Regions from separate parts of the Homo sapiens genome. Here all the other regions are linked to region 1. The links are contacts of gene promoters, found by promoter capture Hi-C in blood cells and fetal thymus (Javierre and others, 2016). All regions are on one chromosome and are shown on one strand. The core of a region is centred on a gene start or on the middle of the fragment in contact, and the rest is flanking DNA. Distances in the headings are between cores, read along the strand shown. Region 1 holds the start of SNX10 (sorting nexin 10). Region 2 overlaps HOXA10-HOXA9 (HOXA10-HOXA9 readthrough). Region 3 holds the start of HOXA1 (homeobox A1).

The links. The method cuts DNA at HindIII sites, captures the fragments that hold promoters and counts their contacts. A CHiCAGO score of 5 or more calls a contact.
Region 2: a fragment that was not itself captured here is called in contact with the fragment with the promoter of SNX10 in region 1 in 2 of 17 cell types (activated CD4 T cells and total B cells); the score reaches 5.8 in activated CD4 T cells.
Region 3: a contact is called between the fragment with the promoter of HOXA1 here and the fragment with the promoter of SNX10 in region 1, in 8 of 17 cell types (neutrophils, M2 macrophages, M0 macrophages and 5 more). The highest score is 19.8, in neutrophils.

What each region holds. Positions count from the first base shown.
Region 1 is chr7:26,290,421-26,293,539 of GRCh38, forward strand. SNX10 (sorting nexin 10) reads left to right here and starts at 1,442. Exons shown (of 7, transcript NM_013322.3): 1 at 1,442-1,666. RefSeq lists silencers at 1,466-1,705, 1,856-1,935. The HindIII fragment of the contact is 4,940 bases long and covers 1,271-3,119 here.
Region 2 is chr7:27,160,467-27,163,585 of GRCh38, forward strand. HOXA10-HOXA9 (HOXA10-HOXA9 readthrough) reads right to left here. Exons shown (of 3, transcript NM_001433944.1): 3 at 1,972-3,119. HOXA9 (homeobox A9) reads right to left here. Exons shown (of 2, transcript NM_152739.4): 2 at 1,972-3,119. Among named protein-coding and RNA genes, the nearest start is that of HOXA9, 3.5 kb to the right of the region's middle. RefSeq lists enhancers at 36-721, 1,596-2,095. The HindIII fragment of the contact is 1,178 bases long and covers 1,122-2,299 here.
Region 3 is chr7:27,094,528-27,097,646 of GRCh38, forward strand. It overlaps HOXA1 (homeobox A1), which reads right to left and starts at 1,473. Exons shown (of 2, transcript NM_005522.5): 1 at 734-1,473; 2 at 1-268. The coding sequence starts at 1,385. It overlaps HOTAIRM1 (HOXA transcript antisense RNA, myeloid-specific 1), which reads left to right and starts at 1,567. Exons shown (of 2, transcript NR_038367.1): 1 at 1,567-1,861. RefSeq lists enhancers at 1-60, 61-561, 1,443-1,737, 1,863-2,435 and a silencer at 1,790-1,959. The HindIII fragment of the contact is 6,567 bases long and covers 1-3,053 here.

The DNA of each region.
Region 1 (3,119 bases), core at 192-2,691:
ACGGGGTTTCACCGTTTTAGCCGGGATGGTCTCGATCTCCTGACCTCGTGATCCGCCCGCCTCGGCCTCCCAAAGTGCTGGGATTACAGGCGTGAGCCACCGCGCCCGGCCCAAGTTACCAGTCTTAATAGGGTCAAAATTCTAACAGATATTCAAATGACTTTCAGTAGACTCTCCAAGGGTTTGTTGCTGCTTTGTCTACAGCTGTAAAGTCATGCTCTTGACAATAAGTTCAGAAAGATTTTAATTTTACAGAATCTCTTAGGATCTTAGATACATGCTGCATTTTGTTTTCTACTCAATGTTTTTCTTTGCGGAGCATAGGGACAAGAATATAAAAAATACACTTTAATTTGATTTTCTTTCTTTTTTTTTTGAGACAGAATCTTGCTCTGTCGCCCAGGCTGGAGTGCAATGGCATGATCTCGGCTCACTGCAACCTCTGCCTCCCGGGTTCAAGCTATTCTCCTGCCTCAGCCTCCCGAGTAGCTGGGATTACAGGCGCGCGCCACCACGCCCAGCTAAGTTTTTGTATTTTTAGTAGAGACGGCATTTCACCATGTCAGCCAGGATGGTCTCCATCTCCTGACCTTGTAATCCACCCGCCTCGGCCTCCCAGAGTGCTGGGATTACAAGCGTGAGCCACCACACCAGCTTAATTTGATTTTCAAAAGTGATCATGGTTGCATTCACTTGTGTGTCATGACTTGGGTGCAATTTTAGGAAATTAAATACCAGTGATTGAGGGTTCAGCAATACAACTTCAAGATCCAAGATGTTAAGACACAACATTGTATATTTATACGTTTTGTTAGGGAGTTAATGTAGGTGTGGTGAACAGATGCGTTTTCAGGTGGGCCTGGAATGGTCCCTGGAGGATGATCAGCGACAAGCTGTATCTAATGGGAAAATTCATGCTTGAAAAATGAAATATTAGGCTATGCTTATTATTCTGTGTCATTCAGTCACTTATTAGCAGTTTAAGTGATGATTGTGGTTTCCCATGCAAACAGGTGTGGGGACCCAGCCTCAGGTGCCATTTGGGAAATGCTTTCCTCAGTCAGGTCCCTTGGCAGATCTCATTAGCTTTCCCCCCAAATGTTTTATTGAGACATTTCAAACATAGACAAAAACTGAAATAATTTTATATAAACACCATAGCCCACCACCTAGATGCTATGAACATTCTGCCATTCTTGTTTATCACGTTATTTATCCGTCCTCCTCCCCATCGGCAATCCTCCCCATAACTGTGGGGTCAGGGTTAGGAAGCTTAAGGTGACTCAGGTGGCGAATTCCGAAGGGTGCCGCTGGAGCACCTCCAGCCTCAACGTCCGGACTAATGGGGGCATTTCCTCCCTAACTCAATTTCAGGAAGCAGGAGGCTAGCTCTGCAGGGTGGGGGCGCACCTGGGCTGGGCTGCGCGGAGGCGGCGGAAGCACTAGGCGCGGCGCCCACAGGCGGACGGCTGGCGCTGAGCGCGGGCGCGGGGCCGCTACGTGCGCGGGGAGCGCGGGGAGCGCGGGGAGCGCGGGGCTGCGCTCGTGTGCGCTCCTGGGCGCTCGCCGCCGCCGCTGCCGCCGCGCGCCTTTGAGTCAGCAAACTCCGCGGCCCGCAAGCCCGGCTCGGCCCGGCCCTGCTCTGTTCTGCCCGGAGGAGCCGCCCGTAAGTGACAAGAGACCCGCTGAGGGGGCCTCCCCTGCACCGCCCAGGTGGGGACGGCGGCCCTTCTTTCCAGAGGCGCGGGCCCTTCCCGCTGTTCCCAGGTGCCCGCACCCTTGCGGGCTGGAAAGAGGTTTGGGTCCCTTGGGCTTGGAGCAGAGGAGCCGCCTCCTTTTCAGCCGAGGTGTGCCGGGCAGGGAGAAATGATCAGCGCGGTAGAGCGGGGAGATGGAGCGCGTCGATCCAGGGATTCTTGGCTAAAAAGACACCCCGGGGAGAGGGTGGGGCAGAGGTGGATTCTAGATTACGGAAGAAGTGCTGTGGCACCTTACACCAGGCCGGGTAGAAGGGGGTGGGGAGGTGGTTTTTAAAATTTATTTATTTATTTTTTTATTCATTCATTAACGGGTAGCCTTGAGTTGAGGAATTGGGAGGGGTAGGCAGGTTTATTCGTGGGATTGTGGGATTGAGGGAGAAGGCCCAGGGGAAAATCCATATAATTGACTGATTATCAGATTTGGTGACCAGGAAAGCAACAGCCTGTTTTTCAGTTCCGATGCATCATACTTTTCTCAAATTACACGGATTATTGAGGGGGATCGTCACGGAATGGGGAGCAACATGTCCTGCTGAAAGGAAGGGCTTCTATCTCTACAAGACACGTTAAAAATGATGGTATCAGAAAATTAGAACGGGGAGGAGGCTTGCACATGATCTCCATCAAACCTTTCATTTTACAGACAGGGAGGCTAAGGCCGAGGGACGCTGAGTGTTGGGACCAGGATCATTCAGCCAGATGGGAGCAGAACCAGGCCTACAACCTGGCAGGCTTCTGACTTCCACCCCGGAGTTATGTCCACCTCTGGGGCCTGGGAACTGGGTTTGGATTGCATAAGCTCCCCCTCCTCTCCCAGGAGGGGGCTGGGCTGGAGGCTGAGGCCTTCGCCAGGAAGAAGCAGGGACTGCTTGGATAGTTGACCAGCTTCTGCAGGGGCTCCTCAGTGAGAGAATGGAGGTGAGGTCAGGGACTCCTGCCTTGCCTCTGCCATCACTTCCAGTGATGCCTATTCCTAAGGTAGGTACATAGCTGGACCTTCATTATTCTTAATATTATTTACTTTTTTCTTTTTCTTTTGAGACAAGGTATTATTCTGTCACCCAGGCTGGATTGCAGTGGTGCGATCTTGGCTCACTGCAAACTCCACCTCCCAGGCTTCAGTGATCCTCCCACCTCAGCCTCCCTAGTAGCTGAGACCACAGGTGCGGGCCACCACACCCCTGGCTAACTTCGGTATTTTTTTTGTAGAGACAGGGTTTTGCCATGTTGCCCCAGGCAGGTCTGGAAGTCCTGAGCTCAAGCAATCCACCTGCCTCGGCCTCCCAAAGTGCTAGGATTACAGGGGTGAGCCACTGCGCTCGGCCTTTTATTACTATTTTTTAAAGGAAGGGTAGACTT
Region 2 (3,119 bases), core at 461-2,960, 870 kb after region 1:
CCTCCCAGCCAACTCGGCCCGGCCCCTATACCTACAGTGGTCAGACACCGAGATTGCCTTTACGCCCAATTTTCACCGCCTAATTTTATTGTCTCGATTCAAGCCAGCCGAGTCCCGGGGTCCTGGCTCTGTCTTGGGTTCTGGCTCGCCGGGCCCTGACCCAGGTCGCAGGTTTCGGGGGCCTCCTGGGCGGCCGCGGACCCCGCGGTCACGGTGTGAGCCCTCGGCACGCACCGTGCACACCCTCTGGGCGGTCATCAAGTTCTGGGGCTGCAGGCGTTCCTCCTGTGTCCGCCAGTCAGCCGGGGCTCTCTGGCGCCTGGCTGTGTCAGGCCTGTCCCAGCTGAGGACGGTGACCCTGGAGCCGCGCCCGCGCCTGGAGCTGCAGCCCCGCGGCCGCCCGGACAGCTGCAGCCCGGCAGCACTGGGCCCCCGGGATGGGGTCAGGGAGGCGCGAGCGGTGAGGGTCGGGCAAGCCCCCGCCGATTCCTTGTTTCCCAGCGAGGCTTCTAGCCAGGCTTGAGCAGCCCAGAAAATATAGGGCGGCTGTTCACTAAAATCTGGGGCTCCCATTCCAGAAAGGCTCGTGTCAAGTCGACATCTTAGGAACTTCACAAGGGTCGCGGAGGCGGGAGATGGCGGCGCGGAAGCCTCTTGCATGGAGCCACACTGCCATCTGCTGGCCGCCGTTTGGTACTGCAGCCTCAGCTACCTCCGCCGGCCTGAGCTTTGGGAGCCGCCGGCTAGCCCACCGCACCCCACTCCCAAACGAGGGGCGTGGGCCTAGGTCCCGGGGAGTCTGCGTGGAGCCCGGAATCTACTGCAGAGGAGGCAATGCCAATAAAAGAGGTGTTTCCGCAGCCGCTTTATCGGCGGCAGACAGAACAAATGAACAAATGAAAGGGCTTTGGTGGAATATCCTAATTGGGGCTGGACAGTTGTAAACTCATTAAGGGACGAATTCCAGACAGTTCGCAGACCCGGCCTTTATGGCACACTCTTACTGCCTATTCTTTGAAGTTCCTTCTGTCTGCAACAACAGAGGGCGTCCCAACCTGGCGGCGGGGTGGGGGTGGGGGTTAGGGGACGCCTCATCCACCCGCGCCCTGGTTCCCCTTTTAAGCTTAGAACACATCCAACTTTGCAGAAGTCGTGGAGTGGGGGAAGGGGGTCGGGCGAGGGAAGCAAGGGGGTGGAAGCGAGGCCGAACCCTCCGGCCACATCTGGAAAGCGCTCAGGCCTCCGAAGTTGTGGCCGTTCCCCCCCCCCCGCCCCTCGTAGCCCTTTACACCCCATAAACGGTAACAGCCCTCATTTTCTTTTATGGCGCTTAGGGGCTCGTCAATTGCCTCAGCCCTGCCTCTGTTAGGCCTTGTGCTCGAGAGGTGCTTGCAGTGCAGGACCCAGATTCTCTTGGGCCAGGCTGGCAGGACTCCGCGGGGGTGGCGGGCGGTGCGAGGATGCAGGGCTTTGTTCCTTTGCAAGCCCCCAAAATGTTTGCCTGCATGGCCACGTTGGGCCGGTGGGGCTCCTATTTCCCTCTTCAGAGCCTGCTTAGAAGGCGGCTCCCAGCTCTCTATCCTGTCACCCTCTCCCCCTTTTCCTCACCAAGCTAACGAAGGCCCAGGTTTGGGAATTTTCTCGGGGGCACCAAGGTGAGAGTGGTCTTTCCACTGCTACTGGCCAGACCAGACCAGCTCCTCAGGGGCTTCTCCGCCGTCCCGCACATAGACACAAGGCCGGGAGCCTGGCTCCTCCGCCGGGTTTCCCAGCTTTTTCTCGCCGCCAGGCAGCTGGCCTGTTTGGGAGAGCTTAGCTCGGCGGACTGGTTGTGGCAGGTCCCGCTCCTGAAAGCCAGCCAGAGGCAAAATTGGGGCTCTTTCTCACCACCCCAACCCGCCCCTACCCAGAGACTCTACATAGGCTCCCCTGACCCAGAGAAGAAGGTGCAAAGAGCAGACCCGCAAAAAATAGAAAAGAATCAATATATTTTATTTGGCAAAAAGTTAAATATCATCTCAACACAACAATTTGGTCAGTAGGCCTTGAGGTAACTATTGCAAAATATACAGTGTAAGTTCAGTCTGATGGAAACCCCAGATTCATCAAGGATACAAATCTACAGTAGCCCAATGGCGGTTTCATAGTGTATAATTTATTATCAATAAAATTAACTCCGTTACAATCAGCATTCATTTCCTCCAATTAAAATTAAGCATAAACCCTAGGTAGTAACCTTCTGCACATATGTATAGCTCCGAATTTCCTCACTGTTCGTCTGGTGCAAAAACAATATTCAAGCTTGTCTGATTATGCATATTTTCTTTAATCATATAGATTATATATACAATAGACAAGACAGGACTATATAGATAATGGACAGACTTAAATGCCCGCATTTTTAAGGTGGAGAAAATGATGAATCTATGCATCCCCGAGAACACTTAAAATTTTTTTTTATTTCACTGGGAAATTCTTACAGCTACTTTACAATCATAGGTTAACAGCCTAGTTATACAGAAGACATATTCCACTACAGAGCTATACTCTATGCAACTGTTTTTTTCCCCTCATAAACAACCTGAGTTCAAATTGAATTCTATCTTCCACAATCACAATGGGTGCATCACCCAGTACACAGAAGTTTGAATCACAAAACATAATTACCACAATAAAACACAGTGTTCAAGTATCTTGGCAGAGCAATCTGCCGCACAAACTGCAAATTAAATTAACTACACAGACTAAAAACTATACAGCCTACCATCAACAGTTGTGCATTATAAAAAGGTAGTTTCTTTCCTTTTGTTTTAAGTCAGGAACAGGTAGATTTTTAAAAATATATATACAAGCTAACACACACAGCTATCAGCACTAATGCCCCCCCCTCAACTTTTCCTTTTTCTTATAGAAAATGGAAAGCTTACAATACCTCCTCCATCAAAGCGGCAGGCCTACGAGCCAGCCTGAACAGGGTTTGCCTTGGAAAAGATGTGGCCTGAGGTTTAGAGCCGCTTTGTGCGGGGATGGTGGAGGCTAGGGTGGGGGTGAGAGAAGGGAGAAGGCGGAAGGGGGACGGACAGTTCTTTCTTTTTCTCTCTAGCTTACCCTTTTTTCTA
Region 3 (3,119 bases), core at 223-2,722, 800 kb after region 1:
GCCTTCTCGTCGTTTCCTGGCGGGGTGGCCGGAGAGATGGGCAAGAGACCCTCCTTCTCACGTTTCTTTTGCTTCATTCGGCGGTTCTGGAACCAGATCTTCACTTGGGTCTCGTTGAGCTGCAGGGATGCAGCGATCTCCACCCTGCGGGCGCGCGTCAGGTACTTGTTGAAGTGGAACTCCTTCTCCAGTTCCGTGAGCTGCTTGGTAGTGAAGTTGGTGCGCACCGCGTTGGGTTGACCCAGGTAGCCGTACTCTCCAACTTTCCCTGGGGCAAAGTGGGAAGCCATGAGACGGAAATGTAAAAATTTTTAAATCGACTTGAGATTCCCCACACGCTTCATGGCAACACTCAGGTAAAGAAAAGATCAAGAACTCAGCACAAATCGGGCTGTGGAGGGTGAGTGATGAGGTGTAAAGTGTTAACCTGATGTAAACCATTAGCATGGTCAGACCGGTGATTAATGGAGCCTCAAGATATTAACAGAACACTACCGTCACAATAACCACCCCCACATACTTCCTATTTCCCAAATGTATAAAATCCTTGAAAACACACCAATCCCTGAGACTTCTTTGCCCCAACACCTCTGGGCACCCTCTCCATGCACTACAACACTAGTCTGATACAAAAGCCTTTTAAAAAAAAGATCATTATTAATTTCCTTGGAAATTAAGCATACCAGCTCCTTCCAGAATAATCAAGGAGCATCCACCAACCAGCAGGACTGACCTGTTTTGGGAGGGTTTCTTTTGACTTTCATCCAGTCAAAAGTCTGCGCTGGAGAAGATGTCTCCGATGCGGGGGAGCGACAGGCTTCTTGGTGGCTGGCGTGGAGAGGGGACAAGGAGTTATTATACGTAGCCAGGGCCAGGCTCTGGTGCTCCTGTCCATATGAGTGGTGAATGTATTGAGGCGAGCCCACCGCGCCCCCAGCATAACCCTGGTGGTGGTGGTGATGCTGGACCATGGGAGATGAGAGATTTCCAGAGTAAACAGCGGGAGCGCACTGGGGGTACCCACCACTTACGTCTGCTTCCTGATTTAACGCGTAGGGGCTGTAAGGCGCACTGAAGTTCTGTGAGCCATAGCTTGGACCACAACTTGAGTGGGAGTAGGACACCCCCAGGTTCCCGGAAGTCTGGTAGGTAGCCGGCTGGGGGTGGCGATGGTGGTGGTGGTGGTGGTGGTGGGGCGAACCGATCTGCACCCCCCTGCCCACTAGGAAGCGGTCGTCGCCGCCGCAACTGTTGGCGCTGACCGCGCACGACTGGAAAGTTGTAATCCTATGGTCCGAGGGGTAGGCTCGGGCTGAGCAGGTCCCCGAGTCGCCACTGCTAAGTATGGGGTATTCCAGGAAGGAGTTCATTCTTGCATTGTCCATCTGTCACTGAGTGACCTGGTCCTGCGAAGCCCGGCGTGACTGTGCCAACTTTCTCACTTCCTCCATGGGGCCGGAGAAGAAAAATGATATGAATGTACAGTGCGCAAGAGGGGGGGCGGGAGGGCGGAGGACGCTGGAGGAGGGGCACGTGACGGTGTCAGCCAATGGCTGAGCCTCCTGCAAAAGTTTGCCGGCTTCCGCAGTGATGGATCACCGTTTTAGTGGCATTTAAATCCCCGGCGCTCCGCCGTCTAGGTGACGCGCAGTCGCCCCCCCAGGCAGCCTAGGCGGCGGCAGCTGCTGCGGCGACTGCAAAGGCCGATTTGGAGTGCTGGAGCGAAGAAGAGCAAAAGCTGCGTTCTGCGCGCGCCCGACTCCGCTGCCCGCCCCGCCAGGCCTCCGGGAGGTGGGGGCTGGGAGGCGTCCCCCGCTCCCGCCCCCTCCCCACCGTTCAATGAAAGATGAACTGGCGAGAGGTGAGAAGGGAAGAGGGCTCCCGGCTCTCTCGGGGCGGGAATCAGTGGGCCAGAGCTCGCCGGGTGGCCGCAAGTACGCCGGCCCAGCCCGCAGCGCGCCCAGCCGGAAGGCGGGGAATCCGGCTGACACCGCGCCCCGGGTTCCCAGGCCACCTCCTCTGTTCTGAGGCTGGGCTGGGAGACCGTGGGGCTGTGAGGAGCGCATAGAACCGTGGTGGAGGGCGAGGCTGGGCCACCGGCTCTTCAAGCTCGGAATGGAGGGGGAAGAGCGCAGAGGGCTGGCTGGGAGGAACTCGGGTGGGCGTGAAGGAGACGAGGGCAAGAAAAGAAACTTCCCTTCTTCCAGGAGGGTCTTCGAAACCCTCTCCCCACAGCCCCTCTCGTCATTAGCATGGCAATGAGGAGTTTCTGTAATTCGACTTGGAGGGGCGGATGAGCCCTGGAAACTCAGAGCTCGCCGGAAAAGGCCGGGGGCGGCCGGGCTCTTCTTCCCCACCTTCCCTCTCTCGTCGCTCTCCGCCCCTTTCTCTTTCCCACTCAGTTTTGCACCGGGAGCCCTCCGGGATGCGGAGCTACTCGACCGCCGGATTTTTAGGGGTAGGAGGCGGGGGAGAGAGATGACGCTGGCGGACGTGGCCAGCGCGGGGGCCGGGCGGTGCGCTGCAGGCCATCTGCCGGCGCCCTGAGACCCAGGAGCCTCCGCGCTCCCGCGTGGGCCTCACAGGGCCGGTCCACAGCTCCAACATAGTAGCTGAACTCCCTTCGTTGCGTTCCTCTTTTTCTGGAGGGGAATGTTAGAAGAGAGAGAGAGCTTCCTTTTATAACCTTCCTCATTCTGCTGCACGTCTAGAGTGGGTGTGGGGGCTGGCAGGTGGGAGGGGCGGTGGACAAATGGCTGATGGTGGACGGGACACTTTACCCCAACGACACCTCCTCCCCTTTCCAACTGGCTGTGTAGTTGCTTATGAGAACCTTCAAGTCCTTCCCTAGAGAGACACATGCAAATCTGAGCCTCATCCCAGGCCAGGGGTCCTGTTCCTCATCACCCTACTTCCCTGAGGCTGCTGAGGTCGTTAAATTGTTGTTTACTATTAGGTTTCACGTCAACCCTGGGCTTGTAGAGAGAAAAAGCCAAACGGAGACCAAGAATTGATGCAGTCTTGGGTAGGAGAAATCGAGAGCTTGTCCAGGAAGCTTTGCTGTATAAATTATAAGCAATGCTGTATAAATTTTACTCCAACCATGTGTACAATGTTGG